Regions from separate parts of the Homo sapiens genome. Here all the other regions are linked to region 3. Evidence: promoter capture Hi-C in 16 types of primary human blood cells and fetal thymus (Javierre and others, 2016). All regions are on one chromosome and are shown on one strand. Each heading gives the region's core, a stretch centred on a gene start or on the middle of the fragment in contact. The rest is flanking DNA. Distances are from core to core; before and after follow the strand shown.

Evidence for each region. Contacts are between HindIII fragments. The CHiCAGO score rates a contact against its expected background, and 5 or more counts as called.
Region 1: a fragment that was not itself captured here is called in contact with the fragment with the promoter of GIMAP6 in region 3 in 2 of 17 cell types (naive CD8 T cells and non-activated CD4 T cells); the score reaches 5.7 in naive CD8 T cells.
Region 2: a contact is called between a fragment that was not itself captured here and the fragment with the promoter of GIMAP6 in region 3, in 6 of 17 cell types (non-activated CD4 T cells, total CD8 T cells, activated CD4 T cells and 3 more). The highest score is 7.0, in non-activated CD4 T cells.
Region 4: a fragment that was not itself captured here is called in contact with the fragment with the promoter of GIMAP6 in region 3 in 1 of 17 cell types (M2 macrophages); the score reaches 5.4 in M2 macrophages.

What each region holds. Positions count from the first base shown.
Region 1 is chr7:150,769,870-150,777,311 of GRCh38, reverse strand. The region is part of intron 2 of LOC105375566 (a long non-coding RNA gene); the gene reads left to right. Among named protein-coding and RNA genes, the nearest start is that of TMEM176B, 27 kb to the left of the region's middle. The HindIII fragment of the contact is 1,816 bases long and covers 2,942-4,757 here.
Region 2 is chr7:150,424,957-150,431,964 of GRCh38, reverse strand. No RefSeq gene overlaps it. Among named protein-coding and RNA genes, the nearest start is that of LINC00996, 5.2 kb to the left of the region's middle. RefSeq lists an enhancer at 2,970-3,139. The HindIII fragment of the contact is 4,508 bases long and covers 215-4,722 here.
Region 3 is chr7:150,629,773-150,636,800 of GRCh38, reverse strand. It overlaps GIMAP6 (GTPase, IMAP family member 6), which reads left to right and starts at 4,416. Exons shown (of 3, transcript NM_024711.6): 1 at 4,416-4,632; 2 at 6,659-6,743. The coding sequence starts at 6,659. RefSeq lists enhancers at 4,466-4,555, 4,566-4,655, 4,926-5,005. The HindIII fragment of the contact is 8,992 bases long and covers 1-4,551 here.
Region 4 is chr7:150,876,035-150,883,332 of GRCh38, reverse strand. It overlaps LOC105375567 (a long non-coding RNA gene), which reads left to right and starts at 6,203. Exons shown (of 5, transcript XR_928171.3): 1 at 6,203-6,324. The HindIII fragment of the contact is 2,523 bases long and covers 4,429-6,951 here.

The DNA.
Region 1 (7,442 bases), core at 2,600-5,099, 140 kb before region 3:
AGAAAGAGGAAATATGAAGGCATGGGAAGGGAGCTGCACAGAGTTAAGGAAGACTTTGGTTTGCAGAGCGAAAAGGATTGCCTAATGGAAGCACAATAAGTAGGAAAAAAATACTCACTTAGACTCATATATATGAAGTTCCAGAGCCCCAAGGATAAGAAGACTCCAAAACGCAAACAACAACAGCAGCAATAATAACAACAGCAGCTAGGTCACTTACCAAGGTGTAAGAATCAGATTGGCATCGGACCTAACAGAAGCTGGATAACAAACAGAGCAATGTCCTTAGGATTTTGAGAGAAGATAATTTTGGACTTGAATTTTAAAATTCACTCACTCCAGGTATTACTGCATGAAGGGGTAGAAAAAAATTAAAAATTTAAAAATCGTAAAGAAAACCCCAAATAACTTAGAAATTGGACACATTTACTTAAATTATGCATAAATAAGTTCCCAAATTACATTGCTCTAGTGTGCACCAAGATTATCAATAAATAAATGATTAATCTTTCTTGAATGACTTTAGTAAACATTGGTTATTGTTGCAGCTTTGCATCTGTTCTGCTCCTTCCTGGAACAGGTCCCTGATTTTTCTTTGAAAACATTATTCCTCCCTCCTCCGTCCTTGGGTTTTAAGTGACTCTAACTTAATCCTCCTTGCACCACAGGGACTTGGTATGCTCTATCCCTCGGGCTACAGTGATGGGTTCAGATATGGGTTTGTAATCCAAGGCTGTCCCATAAGACTCAGTCCTGGGATTTTTTTTTGTAAATTAAAAAAGTTTTTATCGATACATAAAATATGTATTTATGGAGTATATGTAATATTAAATGTATAGAATGTGTAATGTCAAATCAGGCTATTAAGGGTATCCATTACTTGGAGTATTTATCATTTCCATGTGTTGAAAACATTTCAAGTCCTCTTTCCTAGCTATTTTGAAACATACAATACATTATTGTTAACTATAGTCACCTTGCTCTGCTATCGAACATTAGAACTTATTCTTCTATCTAACCGTATATTCGTACCCACTGACCAACCTTTCTTCACCTTCCTGCCCTCCACATCCTTCTCAGCCTCTGGTATCCATCATTCTACCCTCTACTTCCATGTGATCAAATTTTTTGAACTCCCACATATAAGTGAGAACATATGGGCCAGGTGCGGTGGCTCACGCCTATAAACTCAGCAGTTTCGGAGGCGAGGTGGGTAGATCACTAGAGGCTAGGAGTTCGGGACCAGCCTGGCCAACATGGTGAAACCCCATCTCTACTAAAAATACAAAACTAAGCTAGGCATGGTGGCGCGCACCTGTAAACCCACCTACTTAGGTGGCTGAGGCAAAAGAATCACTTGAATCTGGGAGGCGGAGGTTGCAGTGAACCAAGATCATGCCACTACACTCCAGCCTGGGTGACAGAGTGAGATTCTTTCTCAAAAAAAAGAACATGTGATGTTTGTCTTTTTGTGCCTGGCTTGTCTCATTTAAGGTGAATATATATATATATAATATATGTATATGTATATATGTGTATATATAAAATCTTATGGTATATATATGTTATACATACACATGTGTGTATGTATAACATACATATATATACACACACACATATATAAAACATTTTCTTTATCTACTCATCAGTTAATGGGCCCTTAGGTTTGTTTAATATCTTTGCAGTTATGAATTGTGCTGCAATAAACATATATGTGAAAGTGTCTTTTTGATATAATGACTCCTTTTCCTTTGGGTAGATACCCAGTAGTGGGATTGCTAGATTGAATGGTAGATCTACTTTTAGTTCTTTCAGAAATTTCCACATTGTTTTCCATAGAGATTATACGAATTTCCCTTTTTACCACATCCATGCCAACATCTATTGTTTCTTTTCCCCCAACTTTTATTTTAGGATTAGGGGTATGTGTGCAGGTTTGTTGTACAGGTAAATTGTGTGTCATGGGGATTTGGTGTACCGATTATTTTATCACCTATGCAATTAGCATAGTACTCAATAGGTAGTTCTTTGATCCTCACCCTCTTCCCACCCTTCTCCCTCAAGTAGGCCCCAGAGTCTCTTGTTCCCTTCTTTGTGTTCATGTGTGCTCAGTGTTTAGCTCCCACTTGTAAGTGAGAACATGTGGTATTTGGTTTTCTGTTCCCGTGTTAGTTTGCTTAGGATAATGGGCTGAAGCTCCATCCATGTTGCCACAAGGCATGATCTCATTTTTATGACTGCATAGTATTCCATATACAGGTATATATGTAGCAATTTTCTTTATTCAGTCTACCATTGATGGCCATCTAGGTAGATCCCAGGTCTTTGCTATCACAGATATTGCTGCGATGAACGTATGCATGTGTGCGTCTTTATGGTAGGATGATTTATATTCCTTTGGGTATATACTCAGTAATGGGATTGCTGGTTCAAATTGTAGTTCTAAGTTCTTTGAGAAATCACCAAACTGCTTTCCACAGTGGCTGAGCTAATTTACATTTCCATCAGCAGTGTATAAGCATTCCCTTTTCTTAACAACCTCAAGCATCTGTTACTTTTTGATTTTTTTTTTTTTTTTTTTTTTTTGGTGAGATGGAGTCTCCCACTGTCACCCGGAGTGGAGTGCAGTGGCGCGATCTTGGCTCACTGCAACCTTCGCCTCCCAGGTTCAAACGATTCTCCTGCCTCAGCCTCCCAAGTAGCTGGGATTATAGGCATCTGCCACCATGCCCAGCTGATTTTTTGTATTTTTAGTAGAGATGGGGTTTCACTATGTTGGCCAGGCTGGTCTCAAACTCCTGACCTCATGATCTACCCCCCTCGGCCTCCCAAACTTTTTGACTTTTAATGATAGCCATTCTGACTGGTGTGAGATGGTATCTCATTGTGGGTTTGATTTGCATTTCTCTAATGATTAGTAATGTTCATTTTTTCATAAGCTTGTTGGCCATGTATATGACTTCTTTTGAGAAGTGTCTGTTCATGTCCTTTGCCCATTTTTAAAAGGGTTTTTGCTTGTTAATTTGTTTAAGTTCCTTATAGGTTCTGGTTATTAGACCTTTGTTGGACACATAGTTTGCAAATATTTTCTCTCATTCTGTAGGTTGTTTGTTTACTGTGTTGGTAGTTTCTTTTGCTGTGCAGAGGCTCTTTAGTTTAATTAGGTCCCATTTGTCAATTTTTGTTTTTGTTGCAATTGCTTTTGTTATCTTTGTCATGAAATCTTTGGCAGGGCCTATGTCTAGAATGGTATTCCCTAGGTTTTCTTTTAGGATTTTGTAGTTTTGGTTTTACATTTAAGTCTTCAATCCACCTTGAGTTGATTTTTGTATATGGTGAAATGAAGAGGTCCGGTTTCAATCTTCTGCATATGGGTAGCCAGTTATCCCAGCACCATTTATTGACTAGGATGTCTTTTCCCCATTACTTGTTTCTGTTGACTTTGTTGAAGATCAGATGGTTGTAGGTGTGTGGCTTTATTTCTGGGCTCTCTATTCTGTTCCATTGGTCTATATGTCTGTTTCTGTACCACACCGTGCTGTTTTTTGTTACTGTAGCTCTCTAGGAAAGTTTGAAGTCAGGTAATGTAATGCCTCCAGCTTTGTTCTTTTTGCTTAGGATTGCTTTGACTATTTGGGCTCTTTCTTGGATCCATATGAATTTTAGAATTGTTTCTTCTAATTCTTTAAAAAGGTAATTTGTAGTGTGATAGGAATAGCATTGAATCTGTAAATTGATTTGGGCAGTATGGCCATTTTAACAATATTGATTCTTCCTATCTATGAGCATGAAATGTTTTTTCATCTGTTTGTGTCATCTCTAAATTCTTTGAGCATTGTTTTGTAATTCTCATTGTAGAGATCTTTCGCCTCACTGGGGTTGAGAATTACAAAACTCTCCTTGGTTAGGGAGGTGAAAGATATTTTACTGAAAGAGATTTGAAAATGCCTAGGTATTTTATTTTTTTCTGTGTGCGTGGCTATTACGAATGGGCTTGCATTCTTGATTTGACTCTCAGCTTGGACGTTGTTTGTGTATAGAAATGCTACTAATTTTTGTACATTGAGTTTTTATCCTGAAACTTTCTTAAAGTTGTTTGTCTTGAATCTGTAAGAGCTTTTGGGCAGAGACTATGAGGTTTTCTACATATAAAATCATATTGTCTGAAAACAGAGATAGTTTGACTTCCTCTCTTCCTATTTGAATGCTTTTTATTTCTTTCTCTTGCCTGATTGCTCTGGCTAGTACTTCCAGTACCATATTGAATAGGAGTGGTGAGAGTGGTCATCCTTGTCTTATTCCAGTTTTCAGTGGGAGAGAGAGGGAGAATTCAGAGGGAGAGAGAGACAGAGTGGGAGAGAGAGAATCATATTTAAAGTGTACGATTTAATAAGTTTTGACACATATCCATTGGCCCCCCCCAAAATATCCTCATGACCCTTGTCAGTCCTTCCTCCTGACACTTCTCACCCCCATCCCCGGGCAGCCACTGACTTGCTTTTTGTCACTATAGAATAGTGAGCATTTTCTAGAGTAAGTGGAATCACACCATATATACTATATGTACTCCTTTTGTTTGACTTTTTCCACTGAGCATAATAATTTTGAGGTTCACCCATGTTGTGTGAATCAGTAGCTCATATCTTTTTATTGAGAAGTCATATTCCATTGTATAGATATGCTACAGTTAGTTTATCCATTCACCTGTTGATAGATATTTTGTTTATTCCCAACTTTTGCCTATTGCAGATAAAGCTTTATGAATGATCAGGTATAAGACATTTATGAACACATGATTTCTTTTCTCTTAGGAATATACCTAGGAGTGGAATGCCTGAGTCATATTATGGGTGTGTAAGATTACTTTTTAAGAAACTGGCCAATTGTTTTCTAAAGTCATTGCACCACTTTTTTTTTTTTTTTGAGATGCAGTTTTGCTCTTGTTGCCCAGGCTGGAGTGTACTGGTGTGATCTCAGCTCACTGCAACCTCCGCCTCCTGGGTTCAAGCAATTCTCCTGCCTCAGTCTCCTGAGAAACTGGGATTATAGGCGCCTGCCACCACACCTGGCTAATTTTTTTTTTTTGTATTTTTAGTGGAGACAGCATTTCGCCATGTTGGCCAGGCTGGTCTTGAACTCCTGGCCTCAGGTGATCTGCCTGTCTTGGCCTCCCAAAGTGCTGGGATTACAGGCGTGAGCCACTGAGCCCGGCCAATTGCACCATTTTATATACCACCAGTCCCTCCACATCTTCACCAACACTCAGTGTGTTCAGTGTATTTAATTTTAGCCATTCTAATAATCCTTTTTAGTGCTGCATAATATTTCCATGATATGAGTATACCAATATGAGTATCCCTACTGATGCACTTTTACCTCTCTTCCTATGTTTTTGCCTCTAGAAACAATTCTGCAAAACCAGACTATACTAACTGGAGCTTTTATTGCCATGAGACGGAGTCTTTGGAATAGGGTTGATGCATTAAAGTGTATAAATATTTTAAAATAAAATAAATCCTATTGAGAGCTTTCTTAAAAGGCTGTAATAATTTACATTTACCAGCAATGCATTAAAGCATCTTTTGCGTTTCTTCCCAACCTCACCACTATTTTTTTTTTTTTTTTTTTTTTTGAGATGGAGTTTTGCTCTTGTTGCCCAGGCTGGAGTGCAATGGCGCGATCTTGGCTCACTGCAACCTCCGCCTCCCGGATTCAAGCGATTCTCCTGCCTCAGCCTCCGGAGTAGCTGGGATTACAGGCATGTGCCACCACACCCGGCCTTTTGTATTTTTAGTCGAGATGGGGTTTCTCCATGTTGGTCAGGCTGATCTCGACCTCCAGACCTCAGCTCACCCCTAATTTTTGTCAATAGTATATAACTTTTTACAATGCTTTCAAGTTGTTTTGATTTTCATTTCCTTCATTATGAAGTGAATTTTTTTCACATGTGTATTGGCCATTGATTGTTCATCTGTGAACAGTCTAAGGATGTTGCACATTTTTATTTTTGTGAGTTTTTTTGGTAACATAGATTTTAAAATTTCATCTTAATTTTTTTTTTTTTCATTAGAGATGAGGTCTCACTCTGTTACCCAAGCTGGATTTCAGTGGTGCAATCAGATCTCACTGCAGCCTACAACTCCTGGGCTCAAGAGAAAAATTTATTTTTTTATCTTTAAATTTGTTTATGGCATCTTTGCCATATTAAACACTTTAAAGCCATCTTTTCTTTTATAACTTCTGGCTTCATGTCTTGGTTAAGAAAGTACATTCAACTCTTGGCTTGTACATATAATCTCCTGTATTTTGTCTTAAGATTTTCATGTTATTTTTTTACAGACACAAATTCAATCCTTCTTGGATTTTATTTTATTTTTTATTTTTTTAGATGGAGTCTTGCTCTGTTGCCAGGCTGGAGTGCAGTGGTGCGATCTCGGCTCACTACAACCTCCGTCTCCCGGGATAAAGCGATTCTCCTGTCTCAGCCTCCCAAGTAGCTGGGACTACAGGCGGGCACCACCACGGTCAGCTAATTTTTGTGTTTTTAGTATAGATGGGGTTTCACCATGTTGGTCAGGATGGTCTCGATCTCTTGACTTCGTGATCCACCTGTCTCAGCCTCCCAAAGTGTTGGGATTACAGTGTGAGTCACTGTGCCCGGCCTCTTGGATTTTTATGTAGTGTGAGGTAGCAGCCCAGCTTTACTTTCTTCTAATTGGAAAGCTGTTTTTTCCTCACCACTTAACTAAATAACCAATTTTCCTCTGCTTTTTCATACATTTATTCCCATTATTAACTAGGATTCATTATGTACTATGTATATTGTCCTACTGATTTATTTGTGTGTTTTATGCCGATGCCAGACTAACTTATGTTCAGGCATTTTTTTTCCGCACAAGGGAGCCTGAAGAAAGCATATCTAATTCCACACACAAAAACAACAGATTTCAATTGGAATTTAATTATGTATATATCCATTTTGGAAGAATGTATATCTTCATAGTGGTAAGTATTTTCATACCAGAACATGGTCTGTTTTTCTGTTTGTTCAGGTCTTGTTTCATGTTTTTCAATATGGTTGAGCTATATTTATAGTTAAGTATATCATGAATATATATATATAAGAGTATATGTACAGCATAAAGCTCAATAAAGCCATACCCAGTTTAAGGAGTAGAGCATTGCCCTTCGAAGCTTCCCATCCCACCTCCATGAGTTCCTCTCCCTGTCGCTAGGGTATTATTACTATCCTCTCTTTTGTGTTAATCATTCACTTTCTTTCTTTTTCTTTTTTTTGAGATAGGGTGTTGCTCCATTGCCTAGGCTGGAGTGCAGTGGTGCAATCATAGCTCACTGCAGCCTTGACCTCCTGGGCTCAAACGATCCTCCCACTTTGGACTTTTGTGTAGCAAGATCACCTTGTGCACCACCTCACCTGGCCA
Region 2 (7,008 bases), core at 1,219-3,718, 200 kb after region 3:
CCTTCTCACTCCTTTTCCCCCTTCAAGTCTTCCAAGTATGCACTCCAGACTGGTGTTGGTATTGAGTGTGGGCCGATGAAGGGAGAGTGGGGTGACAGAGTTGGTCTGTCCCTTTTCAATAACTGCCAAGAGGACTGTTGATGTTCTCTCTAGAATGTGAGGTACTTGACTGTCCTCGACTTTGAATAGAATATTCAAAGTGGGAATACAAGCTTTCCCACTCAAAAGCTAATTACACCTAGGAAAGAAAATCAACGGTATTTTTTATAAGCAGTATACAAAATAGTTGCCTAATTTTCTTCTTTTCCTTATAGCCCTGTGAAACTGTTTTGGAATGCACGTCATTTAAAAAAATATTCATAACCCAGCACAGTGGCTCATGCCTGTAATTCCAACTCTTTGAGAGGCCAAGGCAGGAAAATCACTTAACTCCAGAGTTCCAGACCAGCCTGGGCATAATAGCAAGACTCCATCTCTACAAAAAATAAAAACTTAGCTCGGTGTAGTGGTGCATGCCTGTAGTCCCAGCTACTCGGGAGGCTGAGGTGGGAGGATCACTTGAGCCCAGGAGGTTGAGGTTGCAGTGAGCTGTGTTTGCACCACTGCACTCCAGTCTGGGTAACAGAGTGAGACCCCCATCTCAAAAAAAAAAAAATGTATCTCAAGACTTGTTCACTTCAAGAAAAGTTTAGAGTAGCCCAATCCCCTGAGGAAATTGGAACCAAGGGACGATGAAACAAGGGTCGTATCTCCTTTTTGGCTTCTCTGCTGATGTGGTTCTTATCTGAGAATCATATAAACTGTTCCCAGTGGGCAGAGCAATGGCACAGCCAGGAGTGTCTGGGGAAACTGAAGCATCCTGAGCCCCCTCCCAAGTCATCTGTGTCTGGGTTCTCTGCTTATGCCCCACAAATAGCTCGTCCAAGTAGGACATTCGAACAAGCACCCCGGACACAGAATGTAATCCGCACCACAGCCCAGCATATGGCCTGGCTTTTTCTCTTCATCTTCATCCTTGTATGTCTAAAGAGAAATGTTTGTGTGGGAGGAGATGACATTTGAGTTCGTTAATTCAAAACACTGGTGGTAAGATGACTTATTCCAGGAACTTCAGTTCTGGATTTCATCAAATAAACTCAGGGACTCAACAGAAGAAAGTGACCGTCTTGTGAGTCCACTGAGCTCTGTCTCCAGAACAGAACCCCAAGGAGTCGGACACAGGAGCAGCAAAGTGCAGGCTGCCCACTGCATCTGCACCAAGGGGAAGGCACGGTCTCTGCAGGCAGCTGCCTCGTACCCCAGCAGCTGCACGTTGCTGCCAGCGCCTGGGGACCGCTGCCTCAGATGGAGAAGCTGGAACTCAGATCCTAGACTATTCCCCTGGGGGAATGCGATGATGGTTTCCAAACTTCACAGGTGCAGGCACGGTTCAAACCTCTGCTTTGCCCTTCCTAACTGCCTGAACTTGAGCAAGTGACCTCCACCCCCAAGTACTTCAGGTTCCTGATCTATAGAAGGAAGATCGTAACGATAATGGTCTTGTGGAGTAGGATGAGGATTAAATAATCTCTCTCCAGTGGGGACTGTTTATTATCTCACACCCCATGTACCCCAGGGACAGAAAATGGGGTTAGGGGGCAGGGCGTGGTGGTGCACACCTGTGGTCCCAGCTGCTCTGGAGGCTGAAGCAGGAGGATCGCTTGAGCCCAGGAGGTCGAGGCTGCAGTGAGCCATGATTGCACCACTGCACTCCAGCCTGGGTGACCAAGGGAGACCCTGTCTCCAAAAAAATAATGCGGTTAGAGTTAGCATCTCCCTTGCTCCTTGGCTTTCAGGCCATACCTCTTCTCCCTTTTGAGAACTAGTCGGCCTCTTCGAGTGTTAGCTGCTGGTCTCTTCCCTTCGTGCTTTGGGGTATGGGCGTCCAGCTCAGTCCCCCCGCCGTCCCCAGGCTTTGTCCCAGGACATGCCGGGTGTATTTGTTCTCCATTGCTGCATAATAAACCACCACAAAAAGTGGCTTGAACAACACAGACTTACTCTCTTAGCGTTCTGGAAGTCCAGAGTCTGAAATGAACCTACAGGGCTAAAATCAAGGTGTCCACAGGGCAGGTTCCTTCTGGAGGCTCCAAGGGAGAATCTCACTGTTCCATGTCTCCTTCAGCATGAGACAGAGAGAGAAAGAGGGAGAGGTGGGGGGTTGGTGAGGTAGAAGGTGCCACACACTTTTAAATGACCAGATCTCATGTGAACTCAGAGCAAGAGCTCACTCATCACCAGGAGGATGGCCCAAGCCATTCATGAGAGATCTGCCCCCATGGCCCAAACACCTCCCACCAGGCACTTCTAACACTGCAGATTACATTTCATTCAACATGAGATTTGGGCAGGGACAAATATCCAAACTATATCAGCTATTAAAGTCCCCAAACCTTCCCTTTAGCTTCCAGTTGCTTTCCTTTGGCTTCTGGGGCAGCCTGCAGAGGGCAAGTGCCTTCGCTCTGAGAGCAGCTGAGTAAGGACACTGCCTTCTCTGACTATATTGAGTACCAGCCCCCCATTCACCAGGCATCCGACTCTCTGCCTCCAAACAATTGCTTTATGCAGGTCCAGGGGCTGGGCCTGGCTATTCTATGCCATCCTTGGGAGTCCTTCCCATCGTCAAGGATTTTCTGAAAGGTCAAGCCTGGCTGCACTGGAGAAGGGAATGTGGAAGCCACAGCCCCTCGTAGCCGGCAGCCTGGGCAGCAACTGGAGGAGGTGGAGCATTTTCCTCTCCCTGTGGGGCTGAGGAATGTGCAGAAAATGGGTCTGCGGGTTCTTTCCAGGTTGCTCAGGAAGGGGTCTAGGGATGTATCTGAGGGGACAAGGGTTTGGGTAGGGACCCAGGCCAGGACTCCAAAGCCCCAGTGCCTTGGCCCTGAGAGCTTGCCTGCCAGTGATTTCTACCTTGGCTGGAATGCACTTTGCCATTTCCTCTGTAGACACTTCCTTGGGCAGATGCGGCCATCTGGTCTACTCCACAGGAGGTGGGAGTGACAGCAGCAAATAAAGAAGACAGGAAGAAGGCGGCCAAGGGCTGCGTGAGTGAACACAAACAGCAGGAGGGCACTTTGCCCAGTGTGGCTTCTGAATCATGCCTCTGAAAGTCCCTGTGTGTGCACACAGCTGTGGGCAGTGCTTACGTTTCTGTGCATGTGTCTGTGGAGAGTGTGGTTGGGGGTCGGAGGGGGTACCTGTGAATTCCTTAGAGAATCCTAGAGGGTGGGACTCTACGGGACCTGCAAGCAAGTCCAGTGGGTTCCAAATGTTTTCTGCAGGTTCTAGTGGGGGCCCCCGGACACCTAAGGGGTGGGCCCAGCAGACAAGGTTGCTGGGGAGAGGGAGACCCATCCCATGCTGTAGCTGGAACACTCCTGGGGTGATCCATGGGTCTTCCTAGTGATATTTTGAAAAAATAAGATTTTACTTTCATTAAAAAAAAAACAAATCTTTGGAAGTAGTGACTTCCCATCTAACCTCCTCATTCTTCAGTGAAGAAACTGTAGCCCCCAGAAAGGAAGTGACTTCCCCAAGGTCGTGAAGGAACCAGCTGGGGGAGAGTCTCAGGCCTCCTGACTCCAAAGTGGGTGCCATCCACAGTTTATCTTGCATCTCTCGGCCTGCAGGGCTGTGGAGGTACAGGCGGCTGGAGGGTGCACTCTGCCCAGCCTCACCCCGGTGAGGACCAAGTGTCCCGGTTCTGAGGAACACAAGGCAAGGCCTCCCTCTTCTAAAGTCTCTTCTTGTTTCCTGACCTGCCGCACTAGTCAGGCCTCTGGTGAAAGGCGTTTGAGGCCCTCAGCACCCTCACGTGACGTGGGAGCCCCAATACGCATGGAGCTGTTGGCACCACTTTGCCACTGCTTGGCCTGGAGAAGTTCTCATTAGCCCTACAGGGACATGGGACAGCGGGATACGTAAGTTGTGGTGGATGGAGGATGGAAAATTGGCCCCATAAGCATCAAGAGCGTGCAGCTGCAGCGTCAGGGCACCTGATAGGCAGCCAGGTGGTGAGAGCTGGGAGCCCTGCTGGGCACTGACGTAGCCCATGCTGCAGGGCTGAGAGCCCTTCCTGCCTCAGGTGTGGCCTCCCACTAAGAGGATTTACCCAGTGAAGGGCAGAGTGGGCCCACACACCTGGCAGCAAGGGCAGAGAGACACCGTGGTTGGGAAAGGCAGAGGGTGCAGCCCCCAGGGAACAAATCAGCAACATGAGGAGTCACCGAAAATGCCGAGTACTTTAGGCAGACACTGCAAAGTCAGGGGTCGGTGTGAGCCATACACACACACACACACACACACACACACACACACACACACACACACACACATTACCACCATAATGGCTCCTCCCCCCACCACCACCACGTTCTCCCTGACGGGGCAGGAGGAGGCCCCAGCGCACAACTATTTCAGAGACACCCGTGCCTGTGCTCAAGCCCCTGCTGCTTTAGAATGAGACACAGGGGACAATGACTGCATAATTCCCCCCCACGCCCCCCCCACACACACACGGAGCCCTTGAAATTGAGGAGAAGGGTCTGTCCTTGGGGAGACAATCAAGTGGCATTCAATGTGGCAAAGGGAATGTTCTATTGATAAAACTACCTTCCCCTCCCAGCAAGTGAAGGGGCCGAGCCGTCACCAGGGGTAGATCCAGGATTTATGGAGCTTGAAGCTTATAGAACTTGGGGGGCCTCTTTTTCAAAAAATACAAAAATGAAAGTACTAAATTAATGACCTTTTATCTATTGATTTCTTTTTAACCAGTAAGGCTTCACGTCTCAAATTTTCCAAATTGAGTCCTCCTATTTTAGTCACTTTGTTAATAATAATAATCTCTACACCTATTGAATTTCAAGTGCTACCAGCAGTGCTGATTTTCCTTTCTCTTTTATAAGATTGGGATTCACCAAACATATCATAATATGCAGAATACATGAAGAATAACCCCATATCAAAAAGCCCTACACATTTAAACACACAAAGTCATTTCACACATAAGGTATTCAAGGTTATACAAAACAGATGACATTGGCACCTTTCACAACCTCTGTGCCTCCGGGTACGACTGGCAATGATTGTGCTCTTGGCAAGATACTATAAACTATTTTTCTGGAAAACATTAAGCAGGTTTATTTTTCCCAAAAAGAGGTTCCCTGCCTTCCCATTGAATGGATGTGGCCAAAATTAATCACTTACCTTCAATTCATGTTGCTACGAGGCCAGGCGAGGTGGCTCATGCCTGTAATCCCAGCACTTGGGGAGGCCGAGGTGGGCGGACCACCTAGGTCAGGAGTTCAAGACCAGGCCGGCCAACATGGTGAAATGCTGTCTCTACTAAAAATACAAAAAAAAAAAAAAATAGCTGGGCATGATGGCGAGCACCTGTAGTCCCAGCTACTCAAGAGGCTGAGGCAGGAGAATCGCTTGAACCTGGGAGGTGAAGCCTGCAGTGAGTTGAGATCATGCCACTGCACTCCAGCCTGGGTGACAGAGCCAGACTCCATCTCAAAAACATATATATATATATATATATATATATATTGCTACCAGATGGGAAAGGCTCTCCATGTTCTTTAGCCTCATCTCTGCATCTATATGTTGGAGAATGTGAAAAAAATATTGGCTCATTGCATTTGAGAGAAATACTGCTTGATTTTCTATTTCATCCATTTTCAAATACCTCAAACTTAAATGCTATACAACTAACAACTGAAGAGCCTTTACTCAATACAAAAAAACAAATGTTTTGAGGGGAGACCAAGGCAGGCCGATCACTTGAGTCCAGGAGTGCCAGACCAGCCTGGGCAACATGTTGAAACCCCGTCTCTACAATAAAAAAGAAAGAGAGAGAGAGGGGGAGGGAGGGAGGGAGGGAGGGAGGAAGGAAGGCAAGAAGGAAGGAAGGAAGGAAAGAAGGAAGGAAGGAAGGAATTAGCTGGTCGTGGTGGCACACGCCTGTCATCTCAGCTACTCAGGAGGCTGAGGTGGGAGGATCACTTGAGCCCGGGTGTTGGAGGTCGCAGTGAGCCAAGATTGCATCACTGCAGTCCAGCCTGGGCAACAAGGACAAACCCCATCTCAAACACACACACAGACACACACAAGTTAATGTGTATGACTTTGTCAAATTCAAGGAATTTTAACCCTCTGGTTTCACCCATCCACAGCACTGACCATGTAGCCTACCACAGTGGCAGGAAACAAATCACAAAACTAATTGTATTCCAGCTGGAGAATGAGGAGTGTAATGAAGGGTATACATCTAAAATAACTGAAAGAAGGATATCGAGAGGCATTTGTACACTCATATCCACAACATCATTATTCACAATAGCCAAAACATAGAGGCAACCCAAATGTCCATTGACAGATGAATGGATAAACAGAATATGGTATATATACGCAATGGAATATTGTGCAGGCCTTAAAGGGAAGGAAATCCAGTCTCAACGTGCTACAACATGGATAAACCTTGAGGACATCATGCTAAGTGAAATAAGCCAGTCACAAAATTAAAAATACCACCTGATTTTATTTATATGAGGTATCTAGAGTAGTCAAATTCATAGAAATAGAAAGTAGAATGGTGGTTGCAAGGACCTGTGGGGAGGGGAAAATGGGGAGTTGTTGTTTAATGGGAGTGGAATTTCAGTTTTGCAAAATGAAAATGTCCTGGAGATTGGTTGCACCACAATATGAGTATATTTAACACTGCTGAACCATCCCCTCAAACATGGTCACGGTAATGTCTGAGTCTGTTTGCGCTGCTATAACAAAATACCTGAGACTGGGTAATTTATAAAGAACAAAAACTTATAAAATCATAAAGAACAGAAATTTTCTCCCCATTCTGAAGGCTGGAAAGTCCAAGATCAAGGGGCCAACAGATTCAGTGTCTGGTGAGGGCTGCCCTCTGCTTCCAAGATGGCGCCTTCTTTATGCGTCCCCACATGGAAGCGC
Region 3 (7,028 bases), core at 3,167-5,666:
TATGACAAACCCATAGCCAATATCATACTGAATGGGCGAAAGCTGGAAGCATTCTCTTTGAAAACTGGCACAAGACAAGGATACCCTCTCTCGCCATACCTATTCACATAGTATTGGAAGTTCTGACCAGAGCAATCAGGCAAGAGAAAGAAATAAATGGTATTCACATAGGGAGAGAGGAAGTCAAATTGTCTCTGCAGATGAAATGATTGTATATTTAGAAAACCCCTCATCTCAGCCCCAAAACTCCTTAAGCTAATAAAAAAACTTCAGCAAAATCTCAGGATACAAAATCAATGTACAAAAATTACAAACATTCCTATACACTAATAATAGACAAGCAGAAAGCCAAATCGTGAGTGAACTCCCATTCACAATTGCTATGAAGAAAATTAAATACCTAGGAAACAAGTTACAAGGGATGTGAATGACCTTTTCAGGGAGAACAACTACAAACCACTGCTCAAGGAAATAAGAGAGGACACAAACAAATGGAAAAACATTCCATGCTCATGGATAGGAAGAATCGATATTGTGAAAATGGCCATACTGCCTAAAGTAATTTGTAGATTCAATGCTATTTCCATTAAGCTACCATTGACTTTCTTCACCGACCTAGAAAAAACTACTTTAAATTTCATGTGGAACCAAAAAAAGAGCCTGCATAGCCAAGAGAATCCTAAGCAAAAAGAACAAAGTTCTGTAGACTTGTAGTACAGCATCACGCTACCTGACTTCAAAGTATACTACAAGTCTACAGTAACTAAAACAGCATGGTACTGATACCAACACAGATATATAGACCAATGGAACAGAACAGAAGCCTCAGAAATAACACCACACATCTACAACCATCTGATCTTCAACAAACCTGACCAAAACAAGCAATGGGGAAAGGATTCCCTATTTAATAAATGGTAGTGGGAAAACTGGCTAGCCATATGCAGAAAACTGAAACTGGACTCCTTCCTTACACCTTATACAAAAATTAACTCAAGATGTATTAAAGACTTAAACCTAAAACCTAAAATCATAAAAACCCTAGAAGAAAACCTAGGCATTATCATTCAGGACATAGGCATGAAAAAAGACTTCATGACTAAAACACCAAAAGCAATGGCAACAAAAGACAAAATTGACAAATGGGATCTGATTAAACTAAAGAGCTTCTGCACAGCAAAAGAAACTATGATCAGAGTGAACAGGCAACCTACAGAATGGGAAAAAATTTTTGCAATCTATCCATCTGACAAAGGGCTAATATCCAGAATCTACAAAGAACTTAAACAAATTTACAAGAAAAAACAAACAACCCCATCAAAAAGTGAGTGAAGGATATGAACAGACACTTCTCAAAACAAGACATTTATGCAGCCAAAAAACATATGAAAACAAGGTCATCATCACTGATCATTAGAGAAATGCAAATGAAAACCACAATGAGATACCATCTTACGCCAGTTAGAATGGTGATCATTAAAAGGTCAGGAAACAACAGATGCTGGAGAGGATGTAGAGAAATAGGAACGCTTTTACACTGTTGGTGGGAGTGTAAATTAGTTCAACCATTGTGGAAGACAGTGTGGCGATTCCTCAAGGATCTAGAGCTAGAAATACCATTTGACCCAGCAATCCCATTACTGGGTATATACCCAAAGGATTATAAATCATTCTACTATAAAGACACATGCACACCTATGTTTATTGTGGCACTGTTCACAATAGAAAAGACTTGGAATGAACCCAAATGCCCATCAATGATAGACGGGATAAAGAAAATGTGGTGCATATACACCATGGAATACTATGCAGCCATAAAAAAGAATGAGCTCATGTCCTTTGCCGGGACATGGATGACGCTGGAAACCATCATTCTCAGCAAATTAACAAAAGAACAGAAAACCAAACACTGCCTGTTCTCACTCAGGTGGGAATCAAACAATGAGAACACATGGAACAGGGAGGGGAACATCACACACCGGGGCCTGTTGTGGAATGGGGGACTGGGGGAGGGATAGCATTAGGAGAAATACCTAATGTAGAGGATGGGTTGATGGGTGCAGCAAACCACAATGGCACGTGTATACCTATGTAACAAATCTGCACGTTCTGCACATGTACCCCAGAACTTAAAGTATAATAATAATAAAAAAAGAAACAAGATCATAACAGAGATTGTGAATTACATTCTTTGTAAATATGCTGTGTTAGCATAGAGAAGTCCTCCCTCAACAAAACAATGGACTACATTATTTGGCTTGCAGGAAGTGAGGGATAACACCATGTGGGCAAAATTTTTTTAAATAACCAAATAAATACATAAGTAAATAAATAAATAAACTGAAACAGGAGTAGAGCCATAAACTCAAAGGGAAGATTGGTTGCCCCAAGAGCAAATGAAGCTCTCAGCCATACTCTCTGGAGCCTAAATTTGGAATCAGTTGTAAAGTGAGTTGTAGATTGAGGAATTTCTGGATTAAGCCAGAAATCTGAAAATGGGGTTGAAGTGGTCTCAGTTTAGTAGTACCAGCACCCCCTTGTCAGTTCCTGATAAAAATGTACACAAATCTTCTCTGGAGTAAAGCCACCTTGATTTCAATCCCAAGGATTTCCATACTTAAGTTCACAATCAAAGACTGTGAATGTAATTCCAGAAAAGAAATCACCAAAAGTGAGAGTCAGCAAAAAATAAAAAACAAACCAAAAGAACCAACATCAGATTTATATGCTGTATCAATTAGATTAGGCCAGATTACCTTGCAGTAACAAACACTTCCCAATTCTCATGGCTAAACGCTGAGCTGATTGATCCCTGGCTCAGTCAACTGCAGGTCTGGGCAACTCTCCAGAGTCAGCTTGCAGAAGATGGAAATGATTAAAATTCAAAATAGATGGTTAATTTCAATTATGGGTGGAGTAATAACATTCTAAATACTTTCTAAACACTTAGGCAATGGAATGGTAAAGATCAACACATGACTTTTAAGAATTAATTAAGTGGCTGGGCGTGGTGGCTCACACCTGTAATCCCAGAACTTTGGGAGGCCGAGGTGGGCAGATCATGAGGTCAGGTGATCGAGACCATCCTGGCTAACACAGTGAAACCCCATCTCTACTAAAAATACAAAAAATTAGCTGGGCGTGGTGGTGGGCACCTGGAGTCCCAGCTACTCAGGAGGCTGAGGCAGGAGAATGGCGTGAACCCAGGAGGTGGAACTTGCAGTGAGCCAAGACCGCACCACTGCACTCCAACCTGGGCGACAGAGCGAGACTCCGTCTCGAGAAAAAAAAAAAAAAAAGAATTAATCATGTTACACCAGGCGCGGTGGCTCACGCCCATAATCCCAACACTCTGGGAGGCCGAGGTGGGCAGATAACTTGAGGTCAGGAGTTTGAGACCAACCTGGCCAACATGGTAAAACCCCGTCTGTATTAAAAATACAAAATATTAGCCGGGTGTGCGGACGCCTGTAATTCCAGCTATTTGGGAGGCTGAGGCATGAGAATCGCTTGAACCTGGGAGGATGAGGTTGCAGTGAACTGAGATCACACCACTGCACTCCAGCCTGGGTGACAGGATGACATTCTGTCTCAAAAAAAAAAAATTAATTGTGTCAGGGTATTTACAGAATAATTTAAGTAGAACATTAAAAGATATATATATGTACACACACACATACTATGTAACAATTTTAATAAATACACCATGATTATCAACCAGAACAGAACCAAAGAAAATTAGAACTATTATAGTAGATTGAGTGGAATTTTTTTAGGGAATCTTAACATTTTAAAATCATGTGGTAACAATATCATCACCTATGCTCCTATGTTCTGAATTTCTTCCTTCAATGGCTTCCCTTTAGCCACAGTTATCAGATCTGTCAGTAAAGTCCTAGAAAACATGTTTTTGAGGATGCTGAGGTGTTTTCTCCCTTGGCCTGTGTTTAAAATATTGTTCTTCCCCCATAACAAGTGCTCTCTTTAATCCTACATTTTAGACATTCTTTTGTATTTTCCCTTTTCTTATAGTGCAGATCTTCTAGAAGCTGTAACAATTGTAATTACCAATGATTCATGCCTTAGAGGTAATGAGTGTCAGACCTTGTCCTGAGAGAAACTATTAAAGGAAGGAGAGGTTGGGGAAGAAAGGAGACAATGACTGTTTGCCCCAATACTGAGGCATAGAAGTTCCCTGGGGAAGAGGTGGGGTTCAGAAAAGAGAGATCAGGGAAAGTCACTCCTCCTGACACAAATCTTTCTGAGGCATCTGCCTCTTTTTAAGCTCTGAGTTCTAGTTATCCTGGCTCAGGATAAAAATAATCCCACCACTGGTATCCTCCCTTTTTCTACTTCCGAGGCTGCAAAGTGCAACAGCAGACTCTTCTGACTCAGGAAGGCCGGTGCTCCTACCCACTTCCTGTTCCTCCATCTCCAGCGGACACTGCTCTTTCAAGGGCAGGTCTCCAGCCCAGCTCTCTGAAAACATTTTGCTGAAAATATAAGCAAACATCGGCCTTGTCCTCCTTGTGTTCATACACTGTGGAAGCTTTTCTCTGCCTCCTCCGTGAGAGTGCGTGGCCGGGAGACCAGAAACGTGGTCCTTTCTCTTGCCTGTGAGCTGGTGCAGAGGTAAGTCTGAGTATTTGTGCGTGTCATATTTGGATGTGTATGTGTGGGTGTTTGTGTTGTACATGTGTGTTTACATGTTTGTATGTGTTAACATGAATGTGTGTGAGTGATGTTTGTGTGTGTGATGTTTGTGTTGTGTGTGTATGTGAGTGTTGTGTGTGTGTTGTGTATGTATATTTGTGTTTGTGTATGTGTTTGTGTGTTCACCTGCATGTGTGTGAGTGGTACATGTGTTTTGTGTATGTGTGTGTGTTGTGTATTTGTGTGTGCTGTGGTGTGTGCAGGTTTGTAATGTGATAAAAAGAGCTGTGACCAACACGTCTGGAGAACTTTTTGCCTTGTGACAAAGTCACTGTTTAATATTTGGCAAGATGCTTCTCTGAGTTTTGCTTTCTTCCAGAGCAATATGACAAGGATGGTACTATCTGTTCCATCTTCTGTGTTGGAGACAATGCACACTGTGGCCAACATGGGAGGTGCCATTCCGGGGAGGGTCTAGGAGGAGGCAGGGAGGTGCCTTGCGTGCAGACCCATTCCCCGAACCCTGCGAAGGCACAGTGCAGGTTCCTGCATGCCACAGCCTAGTCCCACCCGGCTGTTGTTTCCTGTTAAGCTGCCTGCCCGTTCTCTCTAAAGGAGGAATGAGATTACATTGGTAAAGTGCTGCCTCAATTTCCACCAGGGATGTAAGGAAGCCAGGGACAAAGAGATTGAGAGGCCACCAGTTAGGAAGAACTAACTCCCTTTGGTAGGTGAAATATTGTACTCCTTCCAGAATCTGGCTGTTCAGGTCTGAGTAAGGCTGTCCGCCTGGCCTGCTTCTTCTTTCTTCCTAGAAAGTCAACAGACCTTCCTGGACTCCCTCCATGCCCAGCCCAGCACTGCAAAATTGATCTTTACCAATCATAAAGCAATATCCGCATATATACTTCTGGGATCTGGGGAGGACTGGAGTGTTTGCCAGGTGAACAGAATAGAACAAACATCTAACAATGTGGCAATGAGAAAAACATGTCTATCAGGTTCCCCTGGACTTAGGTTTCCCCACACCCCAGACCCTTCATCTGGATCTGTTTCATCTGGTTGTGAATGTCCTACATGATCTGGAAAAACAGTCATGGACCATGCAACTTCCTCCTCAGTCCCACAGAGAAAATCCAGCAGAGAGAACCTTATGGGATCTTGGCACAGAGAACTGTGTTAGTCTATGAAGCCAGGACACATTGCTGTCATGGGAAAGGGGACAGGAGTTCCTGGTTGGGAATGATGTGGCCCTAATTTGCAAAAAGGACTAAGAATTGCTCTAAAAAATGTTATGAAGTATGTTGAGACCTTAATAGGGGAAGAGACATTCACAGGCATCTAGTTCAGGCCCAACATTCTTACTGATGGGATGCTGAGGCCCAGACAGAGCTAACTGGTGGCTGCTTCTCCCCTGAGGTCTCTGGCTTCCTTCCCAGCTCAGCCCCTGCAATCCCAGTCCTCTGTAACCCTCACTGCACAGTCTTCTCCAAAGTCTGGCCCCAAGGCCCACCAAGTGGCCCCTCCCAACAACATCCTACTCATTCACGTCCTCCAGGCACACCAGGCCTTCCTGCTGCTCCCAGGGAACACAGGATCAGAATCACACCTGCTTCTGTGCTTCCCTTCCTCCACCTCCTCCTTCTTCCCTTCCTCCACCTCCCCCCACCTCCCAGAACAGTTCCAGACCCTTTGTCTATCCAAATTTCATCCATTCCTCAGCTCCCAGGCCAGTTGCACCTTTATCTGTAAAATCTCTTAAACTTATGATGGAGACCACAATGAAGGGGGCGAGGGATAGCATCCCTAAAGAAATAGGGTCCCTAAAGCCAGCAGAGAGTGTCTTAGACCCCTTCTTCCATTGCCTCACTCAGTCCCACCCCAACCCTAAACTAATGCAAAAAACTTTCCTCTGGCAAGAGAAAGGCGAAAGGCAGGTGGCTGTTGAAACTCATTTGGAAAGTCAGTAGAACATATGATTTTTTTTTTTTTTTTTTTTTTGTAGATGGAGGAAGAAGAATATGAACAAATTCCCCAGGAGAATCCCCCAGAAGAGCTGTCCCAGGATCCTGTGCTGGAGCTGTCAGGAGGTAAAATGAATGAGGAGAGGGGAGCAAGTGGGAAACATTTGGGGTGCAGGTGGGACACAGCTCCACCACCATAGTGTGCTTGGAGAGGAAGCTGACGTCCCCCAGTCACAGAAATTTACCCGCCTCAGCCACCATCAGAGGCCTTTGGGGTAGGGCCCTTCTTATCACTAGCCAAAAATAAGAAAAAAGACCCCTGGATAGGTATGGTAGATAAAAGGAGGCGAGAAATAGCACCAATGACTAAATCACCATGCCAGTCCCAAAGGAAATGCTTTCACATGGTAG
Region 4 (7,298 bases), core at 4,441-6,940, 250 kb before region 3:
CTGATTTGTGTACATTGATTTTGTAATTTGAGACTTCACTGAATTTGTTTATCAGATCTAGGAGGTTTTTGGATGAGTCTTTAGGGTTTTCTAGGTACATGATCATATCATTGGTGAACAGCGACAATTTGACTTCCTATTTTCCAATTTGGATCCCCTTTATTTTTTCTCTTGTCTGATTGCTCTGGCGAGGACTTTTAGTACTATGTTAAATAGAAGTGGTGAAAGTGGGCATACTTGTCTTATTCCATTTATCGGGGGAATGCTTTCAACTTTTCCCCATTCAGTATGGTGTTGACTGTGGGTTTGTCATATACGGCTTTTATTACTTTGAGGTAAGTCCCTTTTATGCCTATTTTGTTAATGGTTTTTATCATAAAGCAATGCCGGATTTTATAAAATTATTTTCTGCATCTATTGAGATGATCAGATGATTTTTGTTTTTAATTCTGTTTATGTGAGAGATCACATTTATTGACTTGAGTATGCTAAACATTCCCTGCATCCTTGGGATGAAACCCATTTGATCATGGTGGATTATCTTTTTGATATGCTGTTGGATTTGGTTAGCTAGTATTTTTGTTGAGGATTTTTGCCTCTATGTTCATCAGGGATATTGGTCTGTAGTTTTCTTTTTTTGTTATGTCCTTTCCTGGTTTTGGTATTCGGGTGATACTGGCTTCATAGAATGATTTAGGGAGGATTCCCTCTTTCTGTATCTTTTGAAAAGTTTCTGTAGGATTGGTACTGATTCTTCTTTGAATGTCTGATAGAATTCAGCTGTGAATCCATCTAGTCCTGAACTTTTGTTGTTGTTGGAAATTTTTTTTATTACTGTTGAAATCTCACTACTTGTTATTGGTCCGATCAGGGTTTATATTTCTTCCTGATTTATTCTAGGAGAGTTGTATGTTCCCAGGAATTTATCTATTTCCTCTAGATTCTCTAGTTTGTGTGTGTAAAGCTATTCATAGTAGCCTTGAATGATTTTTGTATTTCTGTGGTATTGGTTGTAATATCTCCAGTTTCATTTCTAATTGAGCTTATTTGGATAGTCTCTCTTCTTTTCTTGGTTAATCTCATTTATCTGTATTTTTTTTTTTAGTTATTTTCTTAGTGGTTGCTCTAGGCCTTACCATACACATTTTAACTTATCAGAATCTGCTTCAGATTATACTAACTTAATTCCAACGAGTTATAGAAATGCTGCTTTTGTATAGCTCTATATTCTGTTCTCCTTTTGTGTCATTATTGTTATACATATTATATCTATATATGTTGCAAACCCAAAATAACATAGTTATAACTATTACTTTATGGAATTCTGTACCTTTTAAAGAAGCTGAGAGAAGAAAGGAAAGCAAGTATGTATTTATAGATTTTGTTATATTAACCTTCTTATTTATCATTTTTGGCTCTTTTTATTGTACCTGTGGATTCAAGTTACCATCAGCTGATATTTCCTTATTCCAGTGCAGCTTTGCTCCCACCTACTGGTTTTGTGCTATTATTGTAAAATAAATACATTTCTATATGTGTAGACCCAACAATACAATTTTAAACACATACACACACACACACACACACACACACACACAGAGCCCACAATTGCTTTTAAAATTAGTTAAGTAAAGAAAGAAGAAGAAATATGCATTTACACTATTGTTTTTATAATTACAAAATTATCTACATTGGTGCTCTTTAAATTTTGTTTGTGGGTTTAAGTTACTGTCTAGGCCATTTGCTTTCAGCCTAAAGAATTTATTTTGCTATTTTTTGTGAGGTGGCATGCCAGCAAGGAATTCTCTTAGTTTTTGTTTATCTAAGAATGGTTTTATTTTACTTTCATTTTTAAAAAAACAATATTGCTGGATATAAGATTCTTGCTTGACAGTTTTTTTTCTTTCAGCACTTTAAATATGTTATCTCAGTGCCTCTGGCCTCCATTATTTCTGATGAAAAGTCAATTGTTAATCTCATTGGGGTTCCCTTGTATGTGACTAGTATTTTTCTCTCGGTGATTTCAATATTTTCTTTATGTCTTTGGCTTTCAACATTTTTAAGATGATGTGTCTGGGTTAAATCTGTTTTTGTTTCTCCTAATTGAAGCTTGTTGAGCTTCTTGAACATGTGGATTAATGTTTTCCATCATATTTGGGAAGTTTTCAGGCATTATTTCTTAGATTTTTTTTTCTGTTTTCTTCTCTCTCTTCCTCCTTCAGTTACTCCCATTTTGCATATTTGGTACACTTAATAATGTCACACATTTCTCTGAGGCTCTGTTCATTTTTCTTTCTGCTTTTTTTCTCTCTGCTTTTCAAATTGCATAATCTTTATTGATCTGTATTCAAGTTTGCTGATTTTTTCTTCTTCCAGTTCAAATCCACTACTCAGCTCCTCTAGCAAATTCTTCATTTTAGTTATTATATTTCTCAACTCCAGAATTTCCATTTGGTTCTTTTAAAAAATACTTTCTGTTTTTATATTAATATTCTCTATTTGAGTGGACATTGTCATAACCTTATTCACTTCTTTAAGCATAGTTTCCTTTAGTACTTTGACCATATTTATAACAGCTGCTTTGATGTCTCTGTTAATTCCCCCATCTGGGCCCTCTCACAGAGTTTTTGTTGCCGGGTTTTTTTATTCTGTGGGTTATACTTTTCTGTTTCTTTGCATGTCTCATAATGCTTTGTTGTTAAAAGCTGATCATTTTAGATAACATATTTTAGATAATATATTGGAGCAACTCTGGATACTGATGCTGCCCTCCCCTCCACGTACTCCTTACTCCTGGCCAAGGCTTCTTGTTGTTTTTGGCTTATTTGTTTAGTGACTTTGCTTGACTATTTTGTGAAGTGTATTTCCCCATAATGTGAAGCCTCTGATTTCACTCCTCAGAGGGCACAGCCTTAGGTACATGTACAGTCAGTCATCTGGGGTGACAGAAGTTTTAACCGGCCTCTCTTTAATTTTCTCATTTCCTGATCTCTTTGCTAAGCCATCAGTCTCTGTTGGCATCACACCCAGCTGTCAGGGTACACTAATTACTGGCTGATTTTCTATTGTTTTTCTACAATGCCTGGAGTATGCAATGCTTCACAGTATGATCCAGATAAATTTGGGTCCCTTTGTAGGATTGTTTTGAGTCCAGTCTTTGGGGTTTGTTCAGACAGTGGAAGGACTCTTCTTAGCTATTTGTTTTGTTTTCTCTGGTAAACTGGCTGGCATATAGTTTATCCCATTATCTTTATTGTTTACCACCAAAATCTCCATTGTTTTTGCGAGTTCCCTTATGCTTGAACTTCTCTACATCCTGTTTTAAATCAAGTTAGTTTCTTGGGGGGTCGGGGGAGAGCTTCAGTGCTCTCTGTTCTTATGATCTACCTCTTCCTTTGGGCAAAATCTTTGAGTCACTGCTCAAGACCTGGGGGTAGGGGCTGTGGCTGGCTTCTCTCAGAGCCCTCCTGCTTTACAGAGCAGGGCTCTGCGTGGTGGCAGTAGCCTCTTGTCTTCTCAGGTTGCTGTTGTAGCATGGAACCTCTGATCCAAACGCAATTGGGGCTTCAGTAATTTCAGCCTGCATCACCTGGGGTAGTCTCCACCTATGAGTGGGGACTGGGTGGAGGAGAGAAGCTTCCATTCTCTCAGCTGCACTCATCTACAATTTAGCCTGTGCAAAATGGGGGCTGAGGAATTCTGGTGGCCTGCCTCTTCTGGGGAGCCATTGTATTGCTTGACTGGGAGCTGGATGGAGAGGGAGCTGTGTTTTCCTGGCTAAGTCCATGAAGAGTGGAGCTTCTGTTAAGTGAGTTGGGGGGATGGAGGAGAGAGGAAGTGAGTCATGGCTCAAGTGTCATAGATTCTCATTGTTCTTATTGGGAACAATTTCCAGAGACTTTAAATGCTTAAAAATCATTTAACTAGATATAAGTGTTTTGCTGGGGAGCAGGTCTGCAGAGCTCCTCATACAATCATTCTGGAAGTGGTCTCTGCTTTTTTCTCTTCCTTCTTTTTTCTTTCTTCCCTTTCTTTTTCTTTCTGTGTGTAGTTTCTGTTTTGTTTTGTTAACCTATGGATCAACAGCAGAAGATGTCAGATGTAAGAAATGATGGTAGGACGTGGGATGCTATTAGTAGGTATATCAGCTAATGTTGAAGACACTACTCTTAAATCAAGGAAAATATGATCAGAATAATAAATTTTTAAAGTATAGTGAACAAATTCTTCAGTAAGGCTGAAGGTTAAAAGTAAAAAGTTTCAAAGCAATACTTTTCTTGGCTCTTCTTTATAATAATTTATTGTCTAGTGAGCTACTAACCCTTTTTCTTTATGACTTGATTGCCCCCGTATGCTAAAATACTTGCTGTTTTACTTTTCCTTTCATTGACATTTACAATCCTTTGTCTTTTAGTAGTTTCACAAGCTTTGAAACAATGTTTAGATAATTTTAAAAAATAAAAATAAAACAATGCTAAGGGTACAATCATTGATGTTTTAAATATATCAGCTGCTATAAGGCACTTTGTCCAATTTTCATAATAATTTTGTCTTAATGGTGTTAAGAGCAAAGATTTAAGATTTACTTTCTTAGTGCCATAAAAATAAGAGCTATTCAGCTGGGTTTCTGAAATATTAAGTGCAATGCAAAAGTTTGTTTGCCTAATATCCCTGGACACCAGGCTTCCCAAAATATCCTGCCCCAGACCATAGCCACATCTTCCCACTAGATTCCTGGGCAACTAGAAACAATGGTAAAGGAAAACAAGGTCACACAATTTTTTTTGAGATGGAGTCTTGCTCTGTCACCCAGGCTGGACTGCAGTGGCGCGATGTCGGCTCACTGCAAGCTCAGCCTCCCTGATTCACACCATTCTCCTGCCTCAGCCTCATGAGTTGCTGGGACTACAGGCGCCCGCCACCACGCCCAGCTAATTTTCTTTTCTATTTTTCGTGGAGATGGGGTTTCACCATGTTAGCCAGGATGGTCTTGATCTCCGACCTCGTGATCCACCCGCCTCGGCCTCCCAAAGTGCTGGGATAACAGGCGTGAGACACTGTGCTCGGCTAAGGTCACACTAATTGTTAGCTGGGAGTGGACCCCAAACCTGTTGAAAGAACCCATCAGCTTTCCTTTAAGAAGGTAATGCCACAGACCACAACAGATAATTGAGGGTTATTCTGTGAGCTTCCACTAAAGCTAAAACATGTGTGGAAGGGACAGAAGAGAGGATAACAGGTTTGCTGGCCTGTTTACCACTTGGGGACGTTTGGATGGATGATGAAGAAGAAAAAGAATCAAAAGGACTGGGGCTCATCACAGGTGGGAATAGTATAATATTAGCTCTTCATTCAGAACCATGGTAGCAAAAAGAGAGAAAACTGCATCTGTGGACTGAATTATTCCCCTCAGCCCTCTACCCCAGTGTGTCTTCTTTTTGGGAATAGAGTAGAAAGCCAGGAAAATGGTGGGGATCTAGGAGGAAGCAGGCATCTCCTCTGACTTGCACGTCCCCCTGTTTCACTGTCCTTTGTTAACTCACTGTGTTTGACAGCCACATCTGTGGTCAGCCAGGGGTGCAGCTGCTCCTACTGGTAGCTAATGGCCATAGAACACCAGGGGCGTCTTAAAGCCCCTTCTGTGATCCGCACCACTGCTCCTGGGTATACTCCCAGGGTCTGTTATATGGGTAACATGCACCTCGCAGCAAGATCTCCTGAAATGGGTTAGGACAGGAATATTAGGTAATTGCAAACCCATACTTCCCACCATTCTTGTCTTCAATTATGGCCAATTACATAGTTACGGCAGCCTTGTATTGTTACAATACAATCTTCCTCTATGCTTAGGAACCTCTATGGAGATGGTTGTGTTACTTCAACCAAAGACAAGAAGAGACTAATCTGCAGAATTAGAACAATTCCCTAGTTCTTCAACAAATCAGTGCTGCTTTTCTTGCCAATAATAGACGTGTTTGTATTTCTCCGTGGAAACCCTTGGGGTAAACATGTTGCTTGTTCTTCCAATAAAGAATTGAACCACCAGAGGGCCTCAGGCGACTCAGGAGGTTTGGGAAGAGACAAAGGCACATGCTTAGAGGGTCTGGAGAAGGCGAGGAAGAAGGAAGGGAGCCAAGTAAAACATGTGACTGACCAGGGGCTTTGGAGAAGACAAGCCCTGCAGGAAGGCACGCATGTGGTCATTCTGTCTGTAGCCTCCCATTCCTCCCTGCTTTCCCCAGCTGCATCTACCTGGATCCTGAATTTGAACCAAGTGGTCCAAACGGCCCGGTCACCTGAGCAACCCCTCTGCAGGAACCGCAGGTGTGGGCGGGGTGGTGGGGAGGAGGCGGGGGGGTGGGGGAAAGGCGGGGGGTGGGGGGAGCTCAGCGGCGCCATCTAGCGTCCAGACAGCGGTGGCTCTGGGAAAGCTGATTGTTTTCTTAGCCAGAGGAGGAAGAGAAGGTTGGTCCTCAGCGCCTGGACGCCTGGTAGACGATAGGGGATGACATGATGAGTAAAATAAGGACAGGAACACGCCGAATCCCCTTTCATAATGATAGGACCACGCCAAATCCCCTTTCTTTTTAAAATTTGACATATACCCTTGAATATATATGTATTCTTATAAAATATGGTTATCTGGTATGTATTTATGTATATTGATATAAAGCTGCAGATTTAAAAATAGTACTTCTTTCATCTCTCTCCATCTACATAGTCTTCGTGGTTTTCAGTAAAATGATAATTTCTGGATTACTTAGATGTAGTTATTATGATCCAACCCTTGAATAAGGGGAGTTGAGAGTTGGTGAAACATCCCTGTCTCAATATTTGTTCATGCCATATTTCCTTTGAAAGAATTTACAGATAAAGGCATCAAATACCTGAAAAAGTAACAAGTTTACTATATTTTACTTGAGAATTTGTATATATATTTTTAAGAAAGCTTTTTAGTTTTGGCGTAATTATAAACTCACAAGAGGTAGCAAAAAGAGTACGGAGTTCTGTGAACCTTCAACTGGATTTCTCTAATGGTGACATCTTGCAATGGACTGAGTATGTCTCCCTCAAATTCATGTGTTGAAATCTTAATCTCCATAGTGGTAGCATTAGGAGATGGGGCCTTTGGAAGGTGATTAGGTCACAAGGGCAGTGCCCTCACAAATGAGATTAATGCCCTTATAAAAAAAAAAAAAGACCGCAGAAAACTCTCTTGTCCCTTCCACCATGTGAGGACGCAGTGGGAAGATGGCCAGTCCATGCACCAGGAAGCAGGCCCTCCCCAGACACTGAAG